Regions from separate parts of the Homo sapiens genome. Here region 2 is linked to region 1. The links are contacts of gene promoters, found by promoter capture Hi-C in human tissues and cell types (Jung and others, 2019). All regions are on one chromosome and are shown on one strand. The core of a region is centred on a gene start or on the middle of the fragment in contact, and the rest is flanking DNA. Distances in the headings are between cores, read along the strand shown.

Region 1 (7,137 bases), core at 1,483-3,982:
GGGGCAAAAGTACAAATAGATACCTAAATTATTTAAAATTACAAACCAGTTTGGACGTGGTGGCTCACACCTGTAATCCCAGCACTTTGGGAGGCCGAGGTGGGTAGATCACTTGAGGTCAGGAGTTCAAGACCAGCCGGGCTAACATGGTGAAACCCTGTCTCTACTAAAATTACAAGAGTTAACTGGGCGTGGTGACACACGCCTATAATCCTAGCTACTCAGGAGGCTGAGGCAGGAGAATCACTGGAATCCGGGAGGTGGAGGTTGCAGTGAGCTGAGATGGTGCCACTGCCCTCCAGCCTGGGCAATAGAGTGAGAGACTCCGTCTCCAAAAATTAAATAAATAATAAAATAAAATAAAATTACAAACTACTCCAATTAACCGCTAACCTTAATACAGTCTATCCTTCTACTTGGACAAATCTACCTGTTTAAGACCTGGAAGACCAGGTTTAAATTTAGAATTCCTGGGCTCCTGGGAGTTATGCCCATGAATGAGGTGGCGAAAGCAGCACAGGCCCTGGCCCAACTATTGTCTCTTGGCTCACTTGCCTTCTTTTCTCACCTCTGTCCTGCACCATGAGGGATCTGTGGACATAGGAGCTCAAACACCCAAGTGTCGTGTCACCCCCTTAAAATAAAACAAAGCTGCCCTTTAGCCTCCCTTTTTTTCAGTGAGAAATAATCATTTTAATAAAAGTATACCTTATTTAAAACAAATGATTTAAAGAAAGTAGAAACTGATTCTAATTAGTGGATTTTCTGATTATTATTATTATTATTTGAGATGGAGTCTCGATCTGTCGCCCAGGCTGGCAGTGGTGCGATCTTGGCTCACTGCAACCTCCGCCTTCTGGGTTCAAGCAATTCTCTGCCTCAGCCTCCCGAGTAGCTGGGAGTACAGGCGCCTGCCACCACACCCGACTAATTTTTTGTATTTTTAGTAGAGATGGGGTTTCACCATCTTGGAGAGGCTGATCTTGAACTCCTGACCTCGTGATCCACCTGCCTCAGTCTCCCAAAGTGCTGGGATTACAGGCGTGAGCCACTGTGCCCGGCCTATTATTATTTTTTTATTATACTTTAAATTCTTGGATACATGTGCTAAACGTGCAGGTTTGTTACATAGGTATACATGTGCCATGGTGGTTTGCTGCATCTATCAACCCGTCATCTAGGTTTTAAGCCCCGCATGCATTAGGTATTTGTCCTAATGCTCTCCCTCCCCTTCCCCCCACCCCCCACAGGCCCCGGTGTGTGATGTTCCCCTCCCTGTGTCCATGTGTTCTCATTATTCAATTCCCACTTATGAGTGAGAACATGAGGTGTTTGGTTTTCTTTTCCTGTGTTAGTTTGCTGAGAATGATGGTTTCCAGCTTCATGCATGTCCCTGCAAAGGACATGAACTCATTCTTTATGCTTTCACTTTAGCTTCTTTTAGGGATGTCTAGACTCTGCCATAGAGAGAATGGATCTGGGAAAGAGACCACAGCTTCAGCCATCTGGAAAGGGAATTCTGGGGCCACAAGTATTCAGAACTTGGTCCTGAAGTGCCAAACCCTGTGGACTCCCTCATCCTGGGGTGGGATTGCTGGGTCTTAAAATGTACATAATTCCTGATGCTCCTCTCTGATTTCAAAATAGCTTTTTAGGCCGGGCGCGGTGGCTCACGCCTGTAATCCCAGCACTTTGGGAGGCTGAGGCAGGCGGATCACGAGGTCAAGGGTTTGAGACCAGCCTGACCAACATAGTGAAACCCCGTCTCTACTAAAAATACAAAAATTAGCCGGGTGTGGTGGCGTGCGCCTGTTGTCCCAGCTAGTCGGGAGGCTGAGGCAGGAGAATTGCTTGAACCCGGGAGGCAGAGGTTGCAGTGAGCCGAGATCGCACCATGGCACTCCAGCCTGGGTGTCAGAGTGAGACTCTATCTCCAAAAAAAAAAAAAAAGCTTTTTAAACTACCTCCTTGGCATGGGGCACTCCAGGTGTCGAAATCAGACGGGGAGTGGTGATTAGAGGGGAGTTCCTAAAGTATAGGGCCCAGGGGCCCAAGTATAAGGGCCACACTTTGTGTATATGATTTCTCCTTTCCTGCCATGAGTGCAGGGTCTGTACCTGGCTGTATCTCCAGCATCTATCACGACTGAAAACCCAAACGTATTTGCTGAATGGATAGTATACTGGCCTCTGCACCAGAAGACCTGGGGTCCAGGCCCAGTACTGTCGGAAACAGTTCTTCATACTTTATTACCTCGTTTAAACTTTTCTTAGCCATTATATTGATAAAAATTCCAAGAGGTGAAGTGACTCTCCCAAGGTCGCAAAGCTAGAAGAGGTAGAGGCTGGAACTGCACCCCGCCATCGGTCCTCCTCTCTTACTCATTTTTTTTTTTCCCCTCACTGTGCTGGGGTGGAGAACCGGGACCGGCACCTTCGAGAGGCCAGGCCTCTGCTGCAGCCCCTCTTCTCCAGCTCCGCTCGGCACTCAGCCTCCCCGCGCCGCTGGGTCAGGCGCCCAGCTCCGCCGAAACCCTCCCCTCCCGCCGCGCTCCCTCCGCGCTCCCTCCGCGCTCCCTCCGCGCTCCCTCCGCGCTCCCTCCGCGCTCCCTCCGCGCTCCCTCCGCGCTCCCTCCGCGCTCCCTCCGCGCTCCCGAGGCCCCGCCCCTCCCCTCGGGCCAACGTCACGTGCCGCCCCATCCCCCTGCGCCTGCGCACTGCTTATTTCCCGCTGTCAGGATGAGGAGGCGGAGGTCGGCGGTCGGGTCCGTCTCTGCCCGCGGCTGTGGCGGCGCCGGCGGATCCAGCCTTAGCGGTTTCTCTCTGGGCGGCGGCGGCGGCGGCTCGGTTGACGCCTCCTCCGCCAGCTGAGCCCGCGGGAGCCCAGGACGCCGCTTCCCCGCCCATCCCCGCTCCCCGAGGCCGGCCGCCTGGTCATGGCGCAGCCGGGCCCGGCTTCCCAGCCTGACGGTGAGGCGCCCACCATGGCAGGCGCGGCGGGCGCGGCCTGCCCGGCGTCGGCGTCGCGGGAGGATTTCGGGGCGGGCAGGCGGCGGCAAGGGCGCGCGCAGGCCCCGGGGGTGACCCCGCCGGGCGGAGGCGGGGGCGCGCGGGCTGCGGCGCGCGAGGGCGGCGCGGGCGCCCCGGCTGCCGTCGCTGGGGAGGGGGCGGGAGGCGCGGGTGCAGCGCTTGCGGGAGGGCAGAGGGAAGGGCGTGGGGAGGCTGCTGGGTAGCGTGGGGTAGTGTGGGGAGGGAGCGGTTCTGGGTAGCGGGGGACCGGCACGTGGGTTCTGCCCGTGGGGGAGGATGGAAATCGGGAACATGTGCTATATTCGTTAAAGAAAAAAAATCTTAGCTTAGGTAGTGTACCCTCCCTGCCGCCCCAATCCTTGCTATAGAACTCTTTGCACCCAGTTATGTGACCTGAAAGTAGTTGTGTACAGTAACTGGATTTAGTAGCATTCCCTGAATGGCAGTGTGGCTTAATGGTTAAGTGTTGGGGCCTGGGAGTCTAGAGGACCTGTATTCTTAACCAGCAAGCTCTGGGCTCATTTCTTAGCCTCGTTGAGCCTCAGTATTCTCACCCACGAATTAACCAAGAGGTTAATTCATGCCTTTATATTTTATCTATAAAAATAGCAACACGAATGTGTATATACAATAATAGTATTATGGAGGTATTAGGAATAATGAGAATAGTGTTTGAGAATGCTGAGGCCTACTTGCACTACTTGAAGATATTTGCTTGTGGAACTAAAAAAAAAAAAGTGAAGTCGAAGAAATGTGTCATTTATATTCTTGGAAGGAAAAAAGGGCCCCATCCTAAATAATCAAAGTTGGTTGTCAGAGCCCTTCGTGACCTTCTGGGAAATTGGACTAAGCTGTGCTTCACAGATTGACTACATGGTTCCAGGTTTTACCACCTAGAATAGATGTTTGGAAATAGTGTGCTTGGGCTTTTCCAAGGTCCCACTGTATCTAGTTGTGAAAGTACTTTCTGGTGTATTTCTATAATCAGCGTGTGTGCTTAGCATCTTTAAGTGTGAGTAGAGTAGAATGTTGGGAAAAGGGGCTTGGTACGGAGTAGGTACTTTAAAACTTGGCTTTCCTTGGGGTTGTCTCAAAATAACCTTTCGTGAAACCCTTACTTTTTATTTTTGCCTTTGGGGAACTTGAAACCATGTTATCAGATTTTAAGGTTCTGGCTGCTCTCTGGGAAATGTGCTTCAGAGCCTGTTAGCCTGTAGTTTTGGGTGTTGTTGCTTGCCTAAGGGGAGATGTCCAGTAAGCATTTAGACTTTTATAAGAACCTGCTTTGCTGTTTCTGTTCCAGGAGAAGGGAAGGGAAGCATTTTTGGTGGGCTGTCAGAGAGAGGAAACTGGGATGTCTTCAGGCTGCATTTTAATGATCACCTTTTGCATTTGGTGTCAGGCAAGAAAACTTTGTTCTTCCACAATCCCACTTTGTTACTGCACACAGAGGCAAGATACAGAGAGCTTGTGGTTCTGAACAGGAGTGGTAGGTATGCATAGCTGGCTGCTGCCTTCTCTTGAGTTGCATGGAAAGAAACGTCTAGGGCAGCTCAGGTGACATGACCGTCTGGAATCAAAATTCCCTGCCTCTTTGAAGATATGAAATGGTCTTCCTTGTAAATAGGCAGAAGTGACTAAGCACTTGAACGAGGCTAGGGAAAACTAGCTTTAGGAAATCTTGTATTCTTGGTATTTTAGTTCAGGTTTCTTTCCTATTTCTCAAATCTTGTGACTCTAGGATGAGATTTAGTTTGCATAGATTGCAATTTTTATTTTAAATTAATGTAGGTAGCCATGGCTACTTTTTACAGTAGGAGAGAGATAATTTGGTACGTTTGAGTGCCTTGTGTCAGTGCCTTAGAAGTTCATCTTGGGGATTTTAATTTTTTTTTTTTTCTTTGAGACAGTATCTCACTCTGTTGCCCAGGCTGGAGAGCAGTGGCGCGATCTTGGCTCACTGCAGCCTCGACCTCCTGGGGTCAAAGCAATCCTGCTACCTCAGCCTCCCAAGTAGCTGTGACTACAGGTGCATGCCACTATTCCCAGCTAATTTTTGTATTTTTGTAGATACGGCGTTTTGCCATGTTGCCTAGGCTGGTCCCAAACTCCTGAACTCAAGGGATCCACCTGCCTACACTTCCCAAAGTGCTAGGATTGTAGGTGTGAGCCCGTGAGTCCGGCTTTTGGGGATTTAATTTGTGTCTTTAGCTGAACTCATGTAGACCATTTTAGCTTTAGGCACGTTTGAATTTCCTAGTCCTGCTGATTAAAAAAAAAAAAAATCGCCAGAATTCTTTTGTGTCAAACTGGTGGTGAAAGATAACTAACTGCTTAGTCTTTGACTTTATCTTGTTTTATCCTGTTTCAGAAGCGATTGTCTTTGATGACTTTTTAAAAAAAAAAAAATATTGTCTGTTTTTCATGGCCATATGGTAGATTAGGAAAATCGATTTGTGTGTAAATCGAAGGGATGAAATGTAATCATTTTATTCATTGTAATTATTTTGTAAGTTAAAAAAAGTTTTGGGTTTTTGATACTGCATCTTAGTTTACTTATTTGGAATACAGGTAATTTTAATAGTTAAAGAAATTTCAGTTGATCTGTTTTCCCTTGAGAATTTAAAAATGAAAATTTTCTAATTTTAGTATTTCTTTTAATCTAAGTTCAACTATATCTTTGAAGCATTTGCTCTGGTTTTACTTCACTTTTTTTCTTTTTTTTTTTTTTCTTTTGTAGAGAGGGTCTCATTGTGTTGCCCAGTCTGGTCTTGAACCCCTGGGCTCAAGTGATTCTCCCATCTTGGCCTCTCAGTGTTGGGATTACAGGCATGAGCAACTGCACCCAGCCTACTTCATTATTTTTTATTCTTGCCATGTTGGCCAGGCTGGATTCCTGATTGTTTCCTGTTAGTTACACAGACATGCTACCTTTTACCCCTGAAGGACATGCTTTACATACATAAGTCTGCAACTTCCCTATCTCACTTAATAAATGTTAGCTATCATATTATATACTCATGGTTATATGGCCATGTAATGTTCTGCAAACACTATAGGCATTATCTTAGGAAATCTTCATAGCAATGGTACTATTGAATATTACTGCTTCTATTTTCTTGATGAGGAAACTGAAGCACACAGAAGTTAAAGAAACGTGCCTGTGTTATACAGCTATTAAGTGGGGGAGCAGGATTCAAATCCATGCCATCTGGCTTATGTACTAGATCATGGACTACTTCCAGGTCAGTGTTGTAGGCCTTCTTCATTCTTCTTAAAGACGATCTTATCATATGCATGTACCAGGCATGATTTATGGCCTATTTCCCTATTGTGGGGCAAGTAGATTGTTTTCAAATTTTAATTATTTTATAAGCAGTGTTGTAATGGATGTCCTTGTGCATATTTTTTAAGGTACTCTTTTACTTCTGTAAGACTAGTGAATTAAATAAAGGGCATGAGTTCCGAGTGGTTTAAATTTTAATACCTGTTGCTAGCTTACTCTCCAAGGCATCAATTTACATACTTGCCAACGATATATGGCAGGTGGATTTCCCCTGTAATCCTACAAGCTCTGGATGATGTCATTTGTTTTAAATTTGTGTCTTTTGATTAAAAAAAGTGATATTGTTTGGCCGGGCATGGTGGCTCATGCCTGTAATCCCAGCACTTTGGGAGGCCAAGGCAGATGGATCACAAGGTCAGGCGTTCAAGACCAGCCTGGCCAATATGGTGAAACCCCATCTCTACTAAAAATACAAAAGTTAGCCGGGTGTGGTGGTGCGCACCTGTAGTCCCAGCTACTCAGGAGGCTGAGGCAGAAGAACCGCTTGAACCCGGGAGGTGGAGTGAGCAGTGAGCCGAGATCGTGCCACTGCACTCCAGCCTGGGGGACAGAGTGAGACTCTGTCTCAAAAAAAAAAGAGTTGTATTGTTCAATTAACAAGTATTTGTGTGCCTATTCTATGCCGAATCCTATGCTAGGATCTAGGAAATACAGTGATGAACAAAACCAGACCCAGTCCCTTTCCCAGGTAGTGAATCATTCAGCCATTAATTAGATAATCCTATAGACACACACAAAACTATTTATTCATCTAATATGAAT
Region 2 (7,137 bases), core at 1,799-4,298, 190 kb after region 1:
CTGGTCTGATCACGACCATAACAGCTGGTGGTCACCTTTGCTTTTCCGACCACCAAATTACTGCCCTTGATCATGTTCAGTTTCCCTCTATCCCACTTTCAGAGACAACCACAAGCTTCAGCAACTAGGCTCAAGCTTGCATGCATACACTTTAATCCCTCTATAATTAAAAATACCAGATAATACTTTGCTGATCAATAAACAAAGGTATTTATTCAGCACCCATGTGCCAAGCACTGTGCTAGGCACTGTGGTGGATACAAAAATTAAGACATGGTCCCTGCCCTTAAGGAGCTTACATTCTCATGAGGGAGACAAGACTAATATACATGTACCAGCTAGGAACAGTACAAGACAATATATAATTTGGCGTTAAGAATGTCATACAGACTTGAAGCTTTATAGGGATTCAGAGACAGACAATAAAATAGGCCTTAGAGTCAAGATTTTTTGAGGAATCAGGAACAAGGCCAGGCCTTGAAGAACTGAAGAGACTTAAGTTGAGGTCCCTGTTAGGTAGAAGTGGGAGTAAAGTTAAGAAAAAAACAAGTATGCATATAATGTAGGGGCTTACTAAGAAGTCACTGTGGATTTCTGAGCAGAGGAGTGACTTGATCATACAAGATTCAACAATTTTATTGCAAACTCATAAAATATGTTTAAGTAGCCTGGAGACATCCTACAGAACACAGAAAATAATGGCAGGATCATGACTAACAACATAGCTGGAACTCACCTGTCAAAGAAAAACAGCTACAACATAAAACACTGGCAGGATAGATGACAATAGTTCTAGGAAGCCCATTACTCAACATGGCAATAGCTCCAATGCTTCCTTATTTTCAGAGGCCCCAGAGACTGAGGGTTTCATTATCCAGACCCAGGACTTAGGTGTTCTGCTTCTAGAGACTACACAAGAGGTATGAAAGATATGAGGACATACAAGAGTGACACAGAAAAAACAAGAGGAAGAGAGAAACAAATAGAAATCCATACTGGAAAAAAACGCACCGAAATGTATATAAAATGTATCTCCTAAGGAGATGCAATTTGTATGTCCATTTATTTTTAAATGAACGTATACCGTATTTCCATAACAAACAAAAAACACTATGCTTTAGTCAAGTGTGCTTTTCAGTATCACTAGAAGAATCCAGGAATCCCTCAAATTATGTGTAAGGTTAGTTGGTTGGTCTCAAAATTCCATGTATCAAATCTCACTTTCAGTTTATTTGCATTGTGAAAGGGAAGTGTGTTCTGGAAGAACTAAGATTGAGAGGTAAATTGGGGAGAAAGTAAGGACTTTTCCTTATGTCCATTCAAGCACAGGTATCCTGTCAAGCAACACAGGGCTAGGAATGGTGGTTGTAGGGCTGGCCAAACTGATGAGAGGTGATTGAAATTACCACTGCTCAGGACACAGTGTAGTCAGTCACACAGCAGGGCATCCTGCCACTGGGAACTTGCACCCTATAAAATCGGAGAAATCAAAAACCCTGTAACTGCCTGCCTTTAGGCTGTATATTCAAAATGTATTTCCTGTTTTACCTAGTCATTAATGTATACAGATATTCCCTACTTAAATGAACAGTGAGTTAACAGATTTTAGGATTAGTATTTTACCACAAAAATGCCATTCATTGCATAACTCCAACTCAGGGAGAACAAATAAAACTAGAGAAACTCATTTCTAGCCCAAAAACAATTTAAAAAAAAAAAACAAAAAACAAAATTCTAACAAACGTCACTGATAAAGCGTTCTTGAGCAAAAACAAGATAGGATAAAACTTAAGAATCCCATAAGGATTATACATGCTAAGATTGGCTTTTAAACTTTGAAAACCTTTTTTAAACTGCTTAAAAAGCAGTCCCATAGACCCAGGTTCCATAAAATTGCAACAATCATATTCAAAGTTATTAGCAACATGTAAAATACTTAAATACCATTAGTTATGCAATTCCATTTAAAGACATTAAAACACTTTTCACTTCAAAAACAATCTGAAAATTCCTATTTAGGATGTCCATTATGTTTAAGCCTATGTCTATCTTTCTGAGGACAATGTCACATTCTGGAAAGCTACCCCTTAACAAAGGTTGAATGAACTACTACTAACAATCCACTTTTGGGAAAGGGACCTGTGCCTACATGCCGTTAATGAAAGCTGTTTGGAATCATCTCTTTCCTAGGGGTGCTCTTTCGACTCTTCCAGGTTCTGGAAGTTACTTAAGCAGTGTGAATGCAAACCTGCTGAGACTCAGGGAAGACTTAATATTTAGGGGAAGTATTTATTGAACCACAGCATTAAGTGTCTACTTCTGTGGACCCTGTCTAATTTCTACCTGATTGGGAAGGTAATCCAGGTACTTGGCTCTGAAAAGGTTCTTGAATTTTCACGAAGCAAATGACTAATGTTAACTAGCCAAAGACCCTGGAAGAACATATGCCTAGCTAACTGGTATCTGTTCGTCTGGCTCCAAAGTCAACATTCTAACTTGGTTTCCAAATCTAATGAAAATCTGAGACCCTGTCTCTATTTTTTTTTTTTAATTAAAAAAACAAAAAACAAAACAAAACAAAAAAGGCAAAAAAAAAAAAAATGGCTGGGCATGGTGGCTCATGCCTGTCATCCTAGCACTTTGGGAGGCTGAGGTGGGAGGATTGCTTGAGTCCAGGAGTTCAAGACCAGCCTGGGCAACACAGTGAGACCCCATCTGTATTTAAAAAAAAATTTTTAATTAAAACTTTTTTAAAAATAAAAGAAAAAAAAAGTCTAATGAAAATCTTCCTAGTTTTACAAAAATGTGGCCCTTACCAATCTTTCCCTGGATACTTCTTAATGGAGAAATGTAAGTAAAGCAAATAAGATGCCACATTAGCTTACAGCTGACTTTCCTATAGCTGAATTCCTACTGCTACAAGAACCATCCTCCCTCCTTTTTTTTCATGTTGTCTGACAAAGTTTGGCAAAACCCAGATGCAAAACAACCTATCCAGATGACAGAAATAAATCATCTTCCTGCTGAATCTTGCATTCTGAGTTAGTAAGATGTACACAACCACAGCATGACAGCCACGTATTTCCAATCCTGAAATGAAATCCAGTTAAAAGTTGTGAAGACACAGGAAGAACAGCTGTGTAAACTGTTCTGAGCTCAGATCTACGCAGGAGGGCTACAATACATTATCAGAATTTAAAAGATCACACACAAAAGCTTTAATACAGTGAGAGAAAAATGGAATTCCGTTTTATTTTGTCCTCTCTGAAACTTCCATTTACACCATGGCCTCATCTATCAAGAAGAGGAAGAAAAGGCTCTGCCTTATACCATAAAAATCAAGTACTCATGTACTTGTTAGAGGTGGCAGGATATTTGTTTCTCCAGTTTTTTGGCTCTAAGAAATTACACTTTCAGTACCAGTGTAGTGAGGAACCACTGGCAAACTGTTGGAAATGTCTTCTGGATTAGTCAGTGTACCATTTCATAAAGTGCTTCTGGAGTTAAAATCTGCCAAGCTGTCAAAAGTGTCCACACTTTTGCAACAAAGGATAAAAGATCCCAGTGGGTATCACCGAGTCCTTCCCAGCTGGGTCTCATTATTGGCACTGCTGCTTTAACCTCCAAGCCGCTGGCCCTCACCCCAGGCGAAGCCTCCTGGCCGTTCCTCAGGTAGTGGATTGTAATTTGGATCCTCATCTGGTGTATCAAAAATAGCTTTCCTAAAAGACAAGCAACAGATATAATTTGGTCCCAGAGTCATCTCAGGTCCAAAGTACTACAAGGTCAGTTCAGGCCCCATAGGGTTTCCACCAATAGGTAAGCATTACACCTGCCTGCCAATTAAACAGTTAACATATTGTAAGAGCATCTATAATTATTAACATTTACATTAGCTTTTATCTTTTACTGATTTTTACTACAAAAGCAATCCAAATCATAATAATTACAGAGAAGGAGGAAATAGAGATGAGCAAAATATCCTCAATTTCCAGAGGTAACTATTGTCAATGTTTTAGTTATTCTTTGGGAATTTTTACATTATGTCATTTTACAAAAGTTAGATCACACTACATGTTTTGTAACCTGACTTTCACATATTTATCATTAATGTTTCCCCATAACCAAGGTATCACCCAAGTGTGCATCAACAGGTGAATAAACAAAATACGGTACACACATATAATAGAATTTTTTTTTTTTTTTTTTGAGACGGGAGTCTCACTCTGTCGCCCAGGCTGGAGTGCCATGGTGCGATCTCGGCTCACTGCAACCTCCGCCTCCCGGATTCAAGCAATTCTCCTGCCTCAGCCTCCCGAGTAGCTGGGATTACAGGCGCCCGCCACCACGCCCGGCTGATTTTTGTATTTTTAGGAGGGAAGGTTTTCATCATGTTGGCCAGACTGGTCTCGAACTCCTGAACTCAGGTGATCTGCCTGCCTCGGCTTCCCAAAATGCTGGGATTACAGGCATGAGCCACTGCACCTAGTCAACATGGTGAAACCCTGTCTCCACCAAAAATACAAAAATTAGCCTGGCGTGGTGGCGCATGCCTGTAATCCCAGCTACTACTCAGGCGGCTGAGGCAGAAGAATCACTTGAACCTGGGAGGCACAGGTTACAGTGAGCTGAGACTGCTCCATTGCACTCCAGCCTGGGCGACAGAGCAAGACTGTCTCAAAAAAAAGGAAGGAAATTCAGGCACATGGTACAACATGGATGAACCTTGAGGACTTTACGCTAAATGAAATAAGAAATAAGCCAGACAAAAAAGGACAAATATTGTATGATTCCACTTAGGTACAGAGTAGTCAAATTCAGAGAAAGAAAATAGAATGGTGATGGCTGGGGTGGGGAGTTGTTTAATGAGTACAGAGTTGTAGTTCTGTAGGATGAAGAGAGTTCTATGGATGGTGGTGATGGCAGCAAAACAGTATGAATATACTTAATGCCACTGAACATTTAAAATGAGTTAAGATGGTGAATTTTATGTTAGGTATTATTTTACCACAAAATTTTTAAAAAATTAACAAGGTATCCCAAGAAAAATTACTGCAGAACATAGGAGGGGATAGTAAATGTCCAAAAGACTCCCTAAGTACTATGATGTAGTAATTCAAAACCTCACTAAAGAAGGAACCATTAAAGCAGCATCCTCAATTTGCACTTATATTTCTACTTGTAATCCTCCACAGTTGATAAAATTAGAAATGTATCTGAAAACTTCTGATTTATACTGGAGTCAGAAAATAGTATAATTCAAAATGAGTTTTTAAAATTCTTACAAATTAACAATAAAAACAAACATACCAACAGAAAAAATGGGCAAAGGGCTGAATATGCAATTCAAAAAGGAAATCCATGTGGTCAATAAACGTGAGAATGTTTGCTCTCACAATAATCAAAGGAAAGTATATTAGAAACTGAGATCCCGGCAGGTGTGGTGGCTCATGCCTGTAATCCCAGCACTTTGGGAGGCCGAGGAGGGTGGATCACCTGAGGTCAGGAGTTCAAGACCAGCCTGACCAACATGGCAAAACCCTATCTCTACTAAAAATACAAAATTAGCCGGGTGTGGTGGCGCATGCCTATGATCCCAGCTACTAGGGAGGCTGACGCAGGAGAATCGCTTGAACCCAGGAGGCGGAGGTTGCAGTGAGCCGAGATTGAGCCACTGCACTCAAGCCTGGGTGACAGAGCAAGAATCCGTTTCAAAAAACAGCAACGACAACAAAAACAAAACTGAGATCCCTTCTACTGCCCAAACATTAGCAGGATGGGGGTGGGGGCACAGCCTGGTATAGGGAGTCAAGAGCCCCATCAGACCATGCACACATGGAGGTGGCCTGACGAGATGTTAGCCCGAGTAGGATGGGGAGGCATCCCTGTAAGAGGGCAGCCTGGTCTGGGGAATCTGAGGGTGAGTGAGATAAGCAAGGCATCCATATGGGAGAGGTGGAGACTATCCCGAAAGACTGGTTACATATGAGGGGTAATTAGGTAGGTAAAACATTAATCATAATAAGAATCAGGTTAGGACAGATGGAAAGGGCAGATGGAAAGGAGTGGTACATTCATACAACCAAATAATATTCAGCAATAAAAAGGAACAAATTACCAATAAATACAAGAACACAGATGAGTCTCAAAAACATTATGTTGAATGAAAGAAGCCTTATACCAAAGAGTACATGCATACTGTACAATTCTACTCATGAAGTTGTAGAACATGAAAAACTAATCTACAGAGGAACAAAACCAGAATAGCAATTGCTTCTTGGGGGACAGGTACAATGATTGACAGGGAAGGACATCAGGGAACTTTCTGGTTGATGGTAATTTTCTGTCTTGATAGATACACAGATGTGTGCATTTATAAAAACTCAGTTGACACACTCAAGATTTGTGTATTTTGTTGCACATAAATACTAAACTCTAGTTACTGATATGCACACTCAAGTATACAAGGAATTAAGTATACATATAATGGCACATACATTTTGGATTGGAAAGCTAGATGTAGGGATAGGTGTGCAATAAGAATAGGGAACTATTAATTACAGAATCTATGTGGTGGCTACATGAAGCTCACTCCAATTTTTTTCTGATTTCCTATAAGTTTGTTAATTTTCATAATAAAATATTGGAGGAAACCAATAGGAAAAAAGCTAGAATGAACCATGAGGTAGTACTAGAAATGGGAGTATAGTATAAACCCATGTTTTAAAAAATACATAGATCTAAAAATATACACATGTATACATTATCATACATACATACATATAATTCCATTGCTCTGTTCACTGAGAGGATCTGGGAATAGCAACACTCCAATAGCAATGAGCACATCTAGCACCCAGATCTTGGCTTCTAAATACCATTCTCCACTTTAAAGGAACCAGGGCTCCTTGAAGAAACAGCTGATTCTAGGACTGGATCAAGGAGAGCACAGGATGAGCCTGGTATATCTTGTTGTGCCAGAAAACAATTGCAAAAAAATAAAAAAATAAAAAGTGGGGTGTAGTGGCTCACACCTGTAATCTCAGTGCTTTGGGAGGCCAAGAGACAAGAGGATCACCTGAGGACTGGAGTTCGAGACTAGCCTGGGCAACATAGAGAGACCTTGTCTCCACAAAA

What was found. The method cuts DNA at HindIII sites, captures the fragments that hold promoters and counts their contacts. A contact is called where the count stands out against the background at its distance.
Region 2: a contact is called between a fragment that was not itself captured here and the fragment with the promoter of RABEP1 in region 1, in 1 of the 25 tissues and cell types used here (aorta).

What each region holds. Positions count from the first base shown.
Region 1 is chr17:5,279,552-5,286,688 of GRCh38, forward strand. It overlaps RABEP1 (rabaptin, RAB GTPase binding effector protein 1), which reads left to right and starts at 2,733. Exons shown (of 18, transcript NM_004703.6): 1 at 2,733-2,969. The coding sequence starts at 2,936. RefSeq lists a silencer at 2,453-3,172 and an enhancer at 5,020-5,538. The HindIII fragment of the contact is 8,494 bases long and covers 1-7,137 here.
Region 2 is chr17:5,471,068-5,478,204 of GRCh38, forward strand. It overlaps DERL2 (derlin 2), which reads right to left. Exons shown (of 7, transcript NM_016041.5): 7 at 187-3,722. The coding sequence ends at 3,617. Among named protein-coding and RNA genes, the nearest start is that of DHX33-DT, 5.5 kb to the left of the region's middle. The HindIII fragment of the contact is 6,926 bases long and covers 1-6,511 here.